Linked DNA regions of Homo sapiens: region 1 is linked to region 2. Evidence: promoter capture Hi-C in human tissues and cell types (Jung and others, 2019). All regions are on one chromosome and are shown on one strand. The core of a region is centred on a gene start or on the middle of the fragment in contact, and the rest is flanking DNA. Distances in the headings are between cores, read along the strand shown.

Region 1 (6,638 bases), core at 1,396-3,895, 250 kb before region 2:
GTTCTGTTGTTACAGTGGTGGGGTGGTTGTGGTTTCAGTGACTGAGTTTGAAAGGAGTGGGAAGAGAGTGGGAAGTTCACTGCAATGTATCTGACCAAGATCTGCTGGAAGGTGAAAGTGTGTAGCTTCTCGGTGCAGTTGTGTTGCAAAAGGGAGACCATTTGCAGAGACATAGTTGAGTCAGGTCTATGCTTAGGAGAGTGGATCTTTCAGTTGTTTACAGCAACGTGCCTAAAATGAGCTCACCCTCTTCAGCTGACAAGATAAATGCCCCTGCAGAGCAGGTCTGAGCTGTTCTTTTTAGGGGCACGGCACAGGCAAGCTGCTGAGAAATGTGGCCTGGTGTGCACAGGATTCCCAGCATAGGCCATTAAGGCTGATGGTCCAGTTTCCAGAACTATCCAAAATTACAGAGGAGGCTCATGTGAGGTCTGGGCTTGCCTGGCTCTGTCATCATTGCTTCCTGTCTCTCTGGTCAAGGGCCTGGGCAGACACTTGCCACAATGGGCACAGGGAGAGACCAACTTACCTTCATAGTTGGAGGAGGAGAAACAGAAACTCAGATGCCTGAATTTTAACCTCATGTATTTCCCAACTACACTTGGGGAGAGTAAATAAACCATTACTATTTTAATCATTTGACTACGAAAATAATATTTCTGGCTTTCCAGCTGGATAGAGGATGCATCGAAACAGTGCCCTCTGCCTTACGCTCTGTTTGTGAGCAGTGCGTGACCACAGACTTATTTTGGGGTATCCTAGGGTGGCTTCTTAAAATTTACAGATATCCATATGAAGCTTCCTGAGAACAACATGTTAAAATACACGAGATCTTCCGGGCCTCATCTTCCTACTCTCTAATGCACCACCTTTAACAAAACTGATTTATATTTTTCAACTATGAAAGTATAAAAATGCAATGTTTGTGAGTTCTGAGAAGCATCCTTTCTGAAAGTGCTTACTTAAAAAAATTATGGGTACATAGTAGATGTACATATTTATGGGGTACATGAGATATTTTGATACAGGCATACAATGTGTAATAATCACATTAGGGTAAACCGAGTATCCATCACCTCAAGCATTTATCATTTATTTGTGTTACAAACATTTCGTTTATACTCTTTTAGTTATTTTTAAATGTGCAATAAATTGTTGTTGGCTGTAATCACCCTGTTGTGCTATTAAATATTAGATCTTATTCAAGTGGAGAAAAAGGAACCCTTGCATGCTGTTGGTGGGAATATAAATTAGTACTAAATTAGAATGTAAATTATTCTCCACAGCCACTATGAGAATAGTATGGATGCTCCACAAACAATTAAAAATAGAACTACAACACGATCCAGCAATCCCACTGCTAGGTATATACCCAAAAGAAAGGAAGTCAGTTTATGGAGGGGATATCCACATTCCCATGTTCCTGCTGCACTATATATAATCGCCAAGATGTGGAAGCTTCCCATTTTTTTTTGAGTAAATTATTCAAGAATAAGTACATGCCACGGAATCCTAAATAACAAGTAATGGGATACTACCCTTGTTCTCTGCACAGTTGTGCATCTTTTGCTCCTTCCTACAACTGCCAATTGTTTAAGGGGAGAGTTACTGGGGTGAACAGCCTGGCCAACATGGTGGAACCCCATCTCTACTAAAAATACAAAAATTAGTTCTGCATCGTGGTGCCCGCCTGTAATCTCAGCTACTCAGGAGGCTGAAGCAGAAGAATTGCTTGAACCCGGGAGGTGGAGGTTGCAGTGAGCTAAGATCATGCCACTGCACTCCAGACTGGGCAACAGAGTAAGGCTCCTTCTCAAAAAAAAAAAGAAAGAAAAAAGAAAAAGAAACATAGGATAAATCCATCTTTTAACAGTATGTCACTTATATGTTTGCTATGGTTTGGGTGTTTGTCTCCCCAAACCTCACATTGAGCTTTGATCCCCAGTGTTGGAGATGAGGCCTAAGGGGACGTGTTTAGGCCATAGGGGTGAATTTCTCATGAATGGCTTGGTGCTATCCTTATGGTAATGAGTGAGTTCTTGCTCTATCAGTTCCTGTGAGAGCTGATTGTTAAAAAGAGCCTGGCACCTCCTGCCTCTCTTGCTTCTTCTCTTGCTGAATGATTTCTGCACACACTGACTTCCCTTCACCTTCCACCATGAGTGAAAGCAGCCTGAGACCCTCACCAGATGCAGATGTTGGTGCCATGCTTCTTGTATGGGCTACAGAAGTGTGCGCCAAATAAACCTCTTTTCTTTATAAATTACCCAGTCACAGATATTCCTTTATAGCAACACAAATGGACTCAGATAATTTTCAAACAACATAATCTGCATTTCTTTAACTTCCATTCCCCTTCAAAAGTATAATGAATATAGTAAGCTTCCTATGCTGCCAGAATTTTTGGATGCTCAATATGTTTTATAAGTTACTTTTTTCTAGATCAGCAATTAGGCCCATTATTTTAAATCTAGAGCAAATCCACTTCAACTGAAAGCATATTATTTGAAGATAACTAACATACTGTTTTAAGAAAAGTTTACTTTGTTTCCTGACTTTGCATATGTATCTTATAGAATGGGGACTGGAAGACCAACAGCAATAAATTATTTGCCAAGAAATGTAGTACATTAATAATGTAAACTGTAACTGTGTAAGGCCTTTTGAAAGATGCTTAATACATAAATCTACTCTCTGATAATTTTTTTTTTTGAAACAGAGTTTCACTCTTATTGCCCAGGCTGGAGAGCAATGGCTAGATCTCAGTTCACTGCAACCTCTGCCTCCCGGGTTCAAGCCATTCTCCTGCCTTAACCTCCCAAGTAGCTGGGATTACAGGTGCCTGCTACCACGCCCAGCTAATATTTGTATTTTTAATAGAGACCGGGTTTCACCATGTTGGCCAGGCTTGTATCAAATTCCAGACCTCCATTGATCTGCCCACTTCAGCCTCCCAAAGTGTTGGGATTACAGGCATGAGCCACCATGCCTGGTCAACACTCTGATAACTCTAAGCTATTTAATCCTTAAAAGTTACCAGCCTCATTTGCCAGAATGTGTTGTTTTGATGCCTAATGCCAGAGTGTAAGCTCCCTAAAGGTAGTAATATGTGTAGGATTTGTTCACCAGGAATATCCAGTACTTGGAAATGGGCCTGGCACATAGAATGCATTCAATAAATAATTTTAAATAAATGCTGCCATACATGGAAAGAGGATTAACATGATTTAGCTACTTAAACAATCTGCAACTCATCTGAATATTACTGGTTGGGCAAAGTCCCCAGTGCCTCTTGCTTAGGGGTAGCTTGCAAAATGAGAATCTCTCTGACCATGAAAATTATTTGGGAATTCTTCCAAATATGTCAGCTTAACAAAGACACATCAGTGAGTTATCTTGAAAATTCATTGTCTTCCTTATGTCTAAGGAAACATAGCACATTTTGACAGATAGCCACCATTTATGATTTCATGACATAACTGACACAATTGCAGCACTTAAAATAAGATTTTCCTGCTTTTGGATAGGTCTTCTCATGCCCAGTATATTTTTTAAGAAGTTATAAACAGTGAAAAACAAATTCATTGCAATTATATAAAGTATGTTAGCATAGTTCTTTTTAGAGAAAAACATCCTCATTATAAGTATGTTACTGTAAATGTATATTTATATTGTAAAATCCTAATTCATACACACTACTCCTTTTGTTGGTGGGGTAGAAGTAAGACACTAAAGGATCTAAGAGATTCATAGGGAAACTAAGTGGAAAATATTGGGAAATAAGATGAGGCAGACCAGCCAAGCTTTGGGTTTTTTGTCTGTTTTTTGAAATGGAGCTTCGCTCTTGTTGCCCAGGCTGGAGTGCAATGGCACCATCTCAGCTCACTGCAACCTCTGCCTCCTGGGTTTAAGTGATTCTCCTGCCTCAGCCTCCCGAGTAGCTGAGATTACAGGCACCCGCCACCATGCCCAGCTAATTTTTGCATTTTTAGTAGAGACGGGGTTTCACCATGTTTGCCAGGCTAGTGTCGAACTCCTGACCTCAGGTGACCTGCCCACCTCAACCTCCCAAATTGCTGGGATTACAGGTGTGAGCCACTGTTCCTGGCCATGCTTTGGGTTTTTATGGTACCAATAACCACTTCTCTGAAGTTAGAGGTGTAAACTTCACCTGCTTGATGTACTTTTTGGAAGAGCCTAGGTTGAAGAGAGGTATAGGGGATGAGAGAGGTGAGCACCAGAAAAAAACTTATAAAGAAAAGCCTGTGTTTGTTTTGAAAACAAGTAACCTATGGCTGGGAGAAGAGCTACTGTCAGATGCATGGGCAGAAAATCCAGGCAACCTGACTGTGAAAGGCCTACACAGCAGCAGCTGCAAGGCTGCTCACTGAGTCTTCAAAAGAGGGAACTTTATGCTAAGTCAATCTCTTCTCTGCATAAACTAGAATTATTTTACTTAGCAATGCCTGCTTTTCAAAGTATGGGTTGTAGAATGAAATAACCATTGTTCTCATCCCAAGCTTCACCACTGACCAGCAGTGGGACACAGGACAAGGAAAACTCTTTCCAGGCCTCGGCTCCTGTATTAGTCCATTTTCATCCTGCTGATAGACATACCCAAGACCAGTTGCTTTATTTAAAAAAAAAAAAAAAAAAAAAAGAGGTTTAATGGACTCACAGTTCCACGTGGCTGGGGAGGCCTCACAATCATGGCGGAAGGCGAAAGGCACATCTTACATGGCGGCAGGCAGGAGAGTATGAGAGCCAAGCAAAAGGGGTTTCCCCTTATAAAACCATCAGATCTCGTGAGACTTATTCACTACCACAAGAACAGTATAAGGGAAATCACCCCCAGGATTCAATTAACTCCCACCGGGTCCCTTCCATAACATGTGGGAATTATGGAAGCTACAATTCAAGACGAGATTTGGGTGGGGACACAGTCAAACCATATCATCTCCACACCTCCAAAATGGAGAGAGTAATCCCTCTTCCCATGTCTGTAGAAACCTTGCACAGTGTCCGGCGTACAGGAAAATGTCAATTAGTGGTAGGCTGTTATTTTTCATCTTTTGAATGGGAGTTGTAATTTTTTTTCTTTTTACATTTTCTCTTAGAATTTTAGTCAATTTTTAAAATATTGGGTTCTAAGAGTGCTAACATGGAGTAAAAAACTTGATATTGTCATTGCTTGGAGTTGGAAGAGAAAAAGCAAACACCAGGAGTCCTGGCACAGTAGCTGCAGGTCCATGAGGTAACTCAGCATGGAAGGCAGAAAAGCCAAGGAAAGAAGGTTGGGAAACTGGGGCAGGCAGGCATTCCCCCTATCTATTGCCTGGTCTGCATTTGTTGTTCTTTTGTTTTCTGGAACAAGACTGTATATTTTGCTCATTCATTGGCTTAGTTATTCATTCCATTCAATACAAATGCCACAAAAGGCCGGGGGCAGAGGTTCACACCTGTAATCCCATCACTTTGGGAGGCCAAGGCAGGCAGATCACTTGAGGTCAGGAGTTCGAGACAAGCCCGGCCAACATGGCAAAACCTCGTCTCTACTAAAAATATGAAAATTAGCTGGGGGTGGTGGCAGGCACCTGTAATCCCAGCTACTTGGGAGGCTGAGGCAGGAGAATTGCTTCAACCCAGGAAGCAGAGGCTGCAGTGAGCTCAGATAGTGCCACTGCACTCCAGCCTGGGTGACAGAGGGAGACTCTGCCTCAAAAAAAAACAAAAACAAAAACAAAAACAAAAACAAAAAAAGCCACAAAAGACATTGTGCAAAATGTGGAGAGAGGGAACAGAAAATGGCGGAAATTGAACTTCTCTCAAATCTCAAGTCCCTGTAGGAGATCAGACAAGGAAACTGACAAATGCAAAACCGGATGGTGAAGGCAAGGGGTTTAAGCAGATGTTCCCATGCAATTCTGTTCCCAATAAAAGACCACTGCTTTGGGTGCCAATAACCATGTAGATATGGAAAAAAAATTAATGATATTATGTATTATAAATATCTATACTTTTACAAAAAAGCCAATAAAAATAAATAATAACTGGAGGGTTTGTATTACTTTATTAGCAAAGATTGTTTTATATATGCTGGAAGTAATTTTGATTTCTGCAAAGAGGAAATTTTCTGATTATTATATACTGCAATCAGATTTTTTTCCTATCTCAAGTTATTATAAAAAATTCATTGTTGTCACAGATCAGAAACACCCATCCTCCTTGACTTTCCAGAAAGTCTGAAAGTTAAGAAAAATAATTTCACCATCTAAGCTATATGTTCCATGAGAAAGACACTGCTAAAACAGCAAAATGGTCCAAAAAAGATTCACCTGTGGAAAGTGAAGAAAAAAATGTTAACTTTTATAGTCTCTCTTAAAACAAGGAAATAGATGCATTTATTCCTATGTCTAGCTCTTCTCCTGTAATCTTCTACTTCTTGAATCTGCCTTGGACCAAGAAGCCCACATCTCTGCTGATACTGATTCCTACATCTTCTGGTCTGATGCCAAACCACAGTGATTTTGCATCTGCAAGAGCACATTTGAGAGTCAGCTGAAAGAAGAGCAAAACATTTATTAACGCCAAAGCCATCAACTGCAATCAAAAGATGAAGCCAAACAAATCGAGCAATT
Region 2 (7,157 bases), core at 832-3,331:
TGTATTTTAGTAGCAACGGCGTTTCACCATGTTGGTCAGGCTTGTCTCAAACTCCTGACCTCAAGCAATCCACCCACCTCGGCCTCCCCAAGTGTTGGGATTACAGGCGTGAGCCACCGCACCCGGCCTATTCTCTGTATTTATATTATATATATATGCATAAATATATATATATATATATTATTGTGTTGTGGGTTTTAAAAACACAAATGGTATCATACTGTATATATTGGTATTTGCTTTTTATTTAAGAATGTGTCTTAGAATTCTTCCTATGTGTGTTCAGATAAACCTTATTCTTCTTAAATGTTGCCTAATAGCTTATTGAATACATATAATTTATTTAGCAGTTCTCCAATATATAGACATAGGTTGCTTACAATTATCTTTCTATTATAAAGTTTTTGTGAACCTCCTGTAATATGTCTCTTTGTGTGACTTTTTTCTGAGACAGTCTGCTCTGTCACCCAGGCTGGAGTGCAGTGGCATGATCTTGGCTTACTGCAACCTTCGCCTCCCGGGTTCAAGAGATTCTCGTGCCTCAGCCTTCCAAGTAGCTGGGATTGCAGGCACCTGCCACCACTGCCCAGCTAATTTTCGTATTTTTAGTAGCGATGGGTTTTTGCCATGTTGGCCAGGCTGGTCTCGAACTCCTGACTTCAGGTGATCCACCTGCCTCGGCCTCCCACAGTGGTGGGATTACAGGCATAAGCCACTGCACCTGGCTTTTGTGTGCATTTTAAAATCAGGGTCCAGTCAGGAAAACAGAAATCACATTAGTTATTGAGAAATATTTTAATATGGGAAATTGGTCAAAAGGAATTATAAAAGGTAACAGGTAATCACTGCAGGTAGCAGCTACCATTCCTAGAGCTAGGAAAGGATGGAACAAAAGAAGTGGTTGGAGTCATCAGAACCTAAAAGCTTGAAGGAGGGCCCTGAACACCTTAGTTCAGGCCTATGAAGAATGAAGAGAGGGTGATGGCTGGCTGTTACTGGATCTCTGGAGCACAAAGAAGGGATCCCACGGTGTTGAGGCTCAAACTTCTGAGGAGGTGGCTCAAACATTGGCTATCTCAGGAGCTCAGGGGAGGGGCCGCATGAAAGTAGAATTCAGATCTCTGAGGAGAGCACTGACTGCTGCTGTGATCTCTGAGGGGTGCAATAAGGCTGATTCTGTGATTGTTGGAAAAAGGATAGAGATTAAAACCACCTTTTGGCTAAAGCAATTGCTCCTGCCACGGTAAAATGCAGCTGCTGCTGGCATGATGCTTACAGAATGGAGCAAGTCCCTTCTTCCTCTTGCCTTTGTTTCCCTCTTGTTCGTCCTGTTGGTGGAATCTAGCAGAAGCCCCCCCAGTAACATGGAGTTGAGTATAAAAGGGTGACTGCGTGGACAAGAAACAATAACCAGCACACATTTACTTGTTTCTCTGGTGTGATTCTGAGTCGCACAATCAATGGGTTACAGGATTTGTACATTTCAAATTTTAATAGGGACTCCCACATTATCCTCTTTCCTAAACTGCACGTTAACAGTTTCAATATGAATAAAAGGGGACGGGGAGGGGAGATTTAGAGAGAATAGTGCCTACAGCAGTAATCAAATTTTAACAAGACTTGGGAATACTGTCAAAATGCAGGATCTGATTCAGGAGTTCTGAGGGGCCCGAGTTGGCCTTTTCTAAAAAACGCCCAGGTGATACTGATGATTGCATCATGTTGGAAGTCTAAAACACTCCCATCTTCCCACAGCCTCTACCATAACATTCTAATGCTACCCTTATGTGAAACTGCCCCTCTGATGATTCACGCCAGTTTCCTACCCTCTAAGCAAGGAACAAACCTAGCTTCTGAAAGCGGGGAGGACAGGATTTGGCGCCACGGGTCCAATGCTTGGCTTCCTATTGGCCAGGAATGACATCACTCAGACAGGCGTGGCTTTAGCTGTGACGTCTCCGGTGGCGGATGGTCAGGGACACAGCGGGAGGCGGGAGCGGAAGTGGGGCAGCAAATGGACAGGGTGGGTGGCGGAAAAGGGCCCGGGGGAAGTTATTACAGGGTGTCCTCTTCCGCCGCCAGAAGCCGGAAGTTGTGTCCCGGACGTGTCAACCGGGGTCTGAGTGCTCAGAGTACAGCTGCAACCGCGACCATGGGCGGGAAGAACAAGCAGCGAACTAAAGGGAACCTGAGGGTGAGCGGGGGCTGGCTCGGCCGACCCGGGAGCCTCGCTTCGAGGCGGCTGGCTCCGCCCAGCGCGTTGCTGGAGGGTGTGTGGAGCGCGGCTGTAGGGAGGCGTGTGTTTCCCTGTCGAGTGTGACCTCTCTGTTGTGTGTGCGTCCCTGAGAGCGGTTTGTGTTATCTCTGAGCAGATTGGGGAATCGTGAGAGAAAAGATGTACCATGCCAGAGCTGTCCTCATCCGAGCACACACCCATAATATTCATGAAGAAATGATAATGTGTCAGGTTCACTGGAAGGTGATCTGGCCGAGGTAGCGGGTTGGTTGGGGGAGGGCGGCGCTGGGAAGAAGGAGAGTTGGGAGAATGTTAAAGTGAATCCACTGTGGAGGTTACCGCAGATTGTGCCTCTCCTTTGCTACCTACAGTGGCTTCTCCTAAGCTAAAGCTCTTAGGATGGTATATTTGGTTTCTGGACTGCCTGTTACCCCTTTCCATCTGCAGTCCCATCTTCAGCTCCCTCCTCTTGGCTTACTTCATCCAGCCACACTGATCTCTTCACTGTGCCTTGACTACCTGGCCGGCTCCCAACGCTCTTCAGTTAGGTGGCTCCAAACTTTGCTCTCGACACCTCAGTGAGGTCTCCCATGATCACCCTCTTGGTAGCCCTTCCCCACTCCCATGTTCTTCCTACTTTATTTTACTCCATTGTATTTATGACATTTATTGTCTTGGTTCACTAGGACGTAAGTATTTTGAAAGCAAATGTTTTTATCCTCGGAACCTAGAACAGACTGGCACCTAATAGACGCTCACTAAGTACTTGCTTAAGGACGACCTTAAAGTGGATTCGTGTAAAACTACACGATGAGGGGTTTTGTAATGGTATTTTTTTATGGTGTTAGATTTATTATAGCACAGTCCAATTTTATGAGAATGCTTTTTTTTCCTGTTTCTGATGTAGTTAATTCTAGTGATTTCAATGTCACATTTTCTTAGATCTGTCACTTAATCTGTTTTGGAAGATAATAACAGTATTAACAATTATAGCAACCTGTTGTGTTACTGTGCTAAGCACTTTACTTGCATCTTTTAATGTTTTTTATTTAACAGATTTTCTCAAATGTTTTATATTTGAAAAGTTCTTATGAGGAAAAGTTGCAAGAATATTAGAACGACATCCCATATACTCTTTACCTACATTTACCAATTGCTAATACTTGGTTGCATTTGCTTTCTCTCTCTTAATTTATGTATTTTTCTGAACTTATAAGAGTTAGTTGCAGAAGTCGGGACTCTTAACTCCTAAATACATCAGCATGTATCTTCTAAAAACAATGCCATTTTCTAGCCTGCAGCAATTATAATAATGGTTATAGTATGCAGAAACTTTGACTTTTGTATAATACTGTAATCCAGGATACAGCCTTGTATTTAGACTTCTGTAGTTATCCCAATAATGTTCTCTTTTTTCTTTTTTTTTTTTTTGTAAGACAGGGTCGCTCTGTCTCCAAACCTGGAGTGTGGTGGTATGATCATGGCCCACTGCAGTGTCAACCTCTTGGGCTCAAGCGGTCAGTCCTCCCACCTCAGCCTCCTTAGTAGCTAGGACTCCTGGCTAATCTTTTTTTTTTTTTTTTCGGGGACAGAGTCTGGCTCTGTTACCCAGGCTGGAGTGCAGAGGCGTGAACTTGGCTCACTGCAATCTCCGCCTCTCGGGTTCAAGTGATCCTCCCAGCTTAGCCTTTCCAGTAGCTAGGACTACAGGTACAGGCCATCACGGCTAGCTTATTTTTGTAGGGACAGAGTTTTGCCATGTTGCCCAGGCTGGGACTTTTTTAAAAAGATAAACCGTTTTAACATCTGAGATTCAGTCAAGGATCACTCATTCCATTTAGTTACCATTTGGGTTTCTTTGATCTAGACAGTTTCTCAGTACTGTTTAAGCGGGGAGAGGAGTGTCTTTTTTAACAAAATTTGGAAGAGCCTGGGCCATTTGTTTGATTAATTCAGATTCATCTAGTTTTTTCCTTATGATTAGATTCAGGCTAAACAATTTTTAGAAGGAATTCTTCATAGATGATGAGTCTTTCTCAGTGCATCACACACCAGGGGCACTTCGCACCTGTTTGTCCCCTTATTGGTGGTATTTGTTTAATTACTTGGTTAAGGTGTTGTTCATTATAAAGTTATATTTTTCCATTGGCCAATAACAAATAATATGTTAGTTTGAAACTGTGAATGTCCTGCTCTTCCACAAACTTTCACCTAATGGTTTGAGCACCCTTTGATTCTTGCTGGAATCAGTTATTACTATGGTGATTTAAAAACTTATGCTTAATCATGAAAACAACCCAACTAATGAATTAATTACTCATATCTCATTTTAAATGTGGTGAAACTGAGGTTTAGAGAAATTAGCTTGCCTAAGCTCATGTAGCCAGGAAGTTGTGGAGTTGGGATTTTAACTTTAATGTGGCAAAGTCTTCAATAGAAGACTCTGATACTGGATGTCAGGTATTCAGAGATAATAGATGTCTGCTGTTCTTGAACTATTAGTTTGATGATACAGACACATATGTAAGCAAATGTTAAAGAATTATGATGCAGGTATTAGAAGAAAGAATGTGGGAGAATGGAAGAGAATGGAGGAAGGCAAGTGTTGCAAACATGAGTTTGAAAGATGAGTAGGAGTTTGTCAGACAGTGAAAAGAAAGGAAGCGTTTTCAGGTAGAGAAAAAAGGTTATATAAAGATCAAATTGTGAAAGGCCATCACATAGATAACTTTTTTTTTTTTTTTGAGACAGAGTCTCGGGTCACTGCAACCTCCACCTCCCAGGTTCAAGCAGTTTTGTTGCCTCAGCCTCTCGAGTAGCTGGGATTACAGGCATGCACCATCACACCCGGCTAATTTTTTGTATTTTTAATAGATACAGGGTTTTGCCATGTTGGCTAGGCTGGTCTCAAACTCTTGGCCTGAAGTGATCTGCCCAAAGATACGCTCAGCCTCCTAAAGTGCTGGGATTACAGGTGTGAGCCACCATGCCCTGCCTCAGAGAACTTCGAATTCAGTTTGCTACTAGGGCATGAATGATGGCAGCATAATTTGAAGAAGGGAGAAGGAAGTGGGGCAAGGGAAGGAAAGAGTGGCAGGAGATAAGACTGGGAAAAGTTGAGGTTAGATGGTGAAAGGTCTTGTAAGTCTTCCTTGGTTTGGTCTTTGTAGACTCAGGATTGCCACCACAAATAACTCTAGAAGCTAGGCATGAAAGAGTGTAGACAGAAGTAGGCATAGTACAAAAAAAAAAATAAGTGCCATAAATAGAATTGTTTCTTAATTTTTATTGAACTATGGGTATAGCACTTAACATACAAAGATCATAAGAGTAACTATATTTTAAATTTAAAGTAGACATTAAAAAAAGATAGTGCATTTAAAAGTAACTTGTTACTTTTAAATTGGAGACTGGAAATTTGATACCTTCTCTTTTGCCCCTAGTTATCACTCCTAATTCTGTTATTTCAGCCTCAACTCCTTTAGATGTTAGCAATAATTAGTTTTTTATTCTGTTTCATAATAAAACCGTTTACACATGAGATTGTAGAAAATTCTGATACCCTAAAGTCATCATATTTAGTTTAAGAATTATAATTCACTAACTACTTCCTTTGTGGCTCTTTATTCATGTACCAATATTGAGAAAGGTGAATTGAATAATTAATATTAATTCATTTTAATAAACTTAAAAAATAGAGAACAGCTGCTTTGCCTATGGAGTAGCCATTCTTTTATTCTTTTCTTTTTTTTTTTTGAAATGGAGTTTCGCTCTTTTTGCCCAGGCTGGAGTGCAATGGCGCAATCTCGACTCACTGCAATCTCTGCCCCCTGGGTTCAAGCAATTCTCCTGCCTCAGCCTCCCAAGTAGCTGGGATTAAAGGCATGTGCCACCATGCCTGGCTAATTTTGTATTTTTAGTAGAGACGGCGTTTCACCATGTTGGCCAGGCTGGTCTTGAACTCCTGATCTCAGGTGATCTCCCTCCTCAGCCTCCCGAAGTGCTGGGATTACAGACGTGAACCACCGCGCCTGACCTATTTTCTTAATAAACTTACTTTCACTTAAAAAAAAAAATAGAGAACCTTTTTTGGAATTAGTCTTAAATGCTACAGATTGAAAACAAATGTAATGCAGGCCATCATTTTCTTTCCTGTTCACTCAGTTCAGTTTAGGAAGTAGGCCAGATTATTCCTTGTCAGATGAATTTTCCAAACACACTTTTGCTAGGTATTAGGAATTTTTTTTTTTTTTTTGAGACAGAGCCTCGCTCTGTTGCCCTGGGTGGAGTGCAGTAGCACAATCTTGACTCACTGCAACCTCAGCCTCCCAGGTTCAAGCAATTCTCATGACTCACCCTCCTGAGTAGGTGGGATTACAGGCACATGCCACCACGCCTGGCTAATTTTTGTGTTTTTGGTAGAGACAGGGTTTTGCCATGTTGCCGAGGCTGGTTTCGAACTTCAGGGCTCAAGTGATCCACCCGCCTTGACCTCCCAAAGTGTTGGGATTACAGGCATGAGCCACCTTGCCTGGCCGGTATGAGCAATTTGTTTTTTTTTGTTGTTTTTTTTTTTTTTTGAGACAGAGTCTCGCCCTGTCACCCAGGCTGGAGTGCAATGGCACAATCTTGGCTCATTGCAACCTCTGCCTTCCGGTTCAAGCGATTCTCTTGCCTCAGCCTCCCGAGTAGCTGGGATTACAGGCGTGCGCCACCACGCCCAGTTAATTTTTTGTATCTTTGGTAGAGATGGGGTTTCACCATGTTGGCCAGGCTGGTCTCGAACTCCTGACCTCGTGATCTGCCCGCCTTGGCCTTCCAAAGTGCTGAGATTACAGGCGTGAGCCACTGTGCCCGGCCGGTATGAGCAATTTGAATCACACATTTGGATAACCGTTGGCAAACATCCTTATAGAGAAAT

What was found. Contacts are between HindIII fragments. The study calls those that stand out against the background at their distance.
Region 1: a contact is called between a fragment that was not itself captured here and the fragment with the promoter of LTN1 in region 2, in 1 of the 25 tissues and cell types used here (spleen).

The regions. Positions count from the first base shown.
Region 1 is chr21:29,238,986-29,245,623 of GRCh38, reverse strand. The region is part of intron 1 of LINC00189 (long intergenic non-protein coding RNA 189); the gene reads right to left. Among named protein-coding and RNA genes, the nearest start is that of LINC00189, 49 kb to the right of the region's middle. RefSeq lists an enhancer at 102-151. The HindIII fragment of the contact is 3,034 bases long and covers 1,129-4,162 here.
Region 2 is chr21:28,987,801-28,994,957 of GRCh38, reverse strand. It overlaps LTN1 (listerin E3 ubiquitin protein ligase 1), which reads left to right and starts at 2,081. Exons shown (of 30, transcript NM_015565.3): 1 at 2,081-2,194. The coding sequence starts at 2,153. LOC105372766 (a long non-coding RNA gene) reads right to left here and starts at 1,855. Exons shown (of 3, transcript XR_007067835.1): 1 at 1,827-1,855; 2 at 1,277-1,388; 3 at 777-1,176. RefSeq lists enhancers at 1,797-1,856, 2,167-2,276. The HindIII fragment of the contact is 9,354 bases long and covers 7-7,157 here.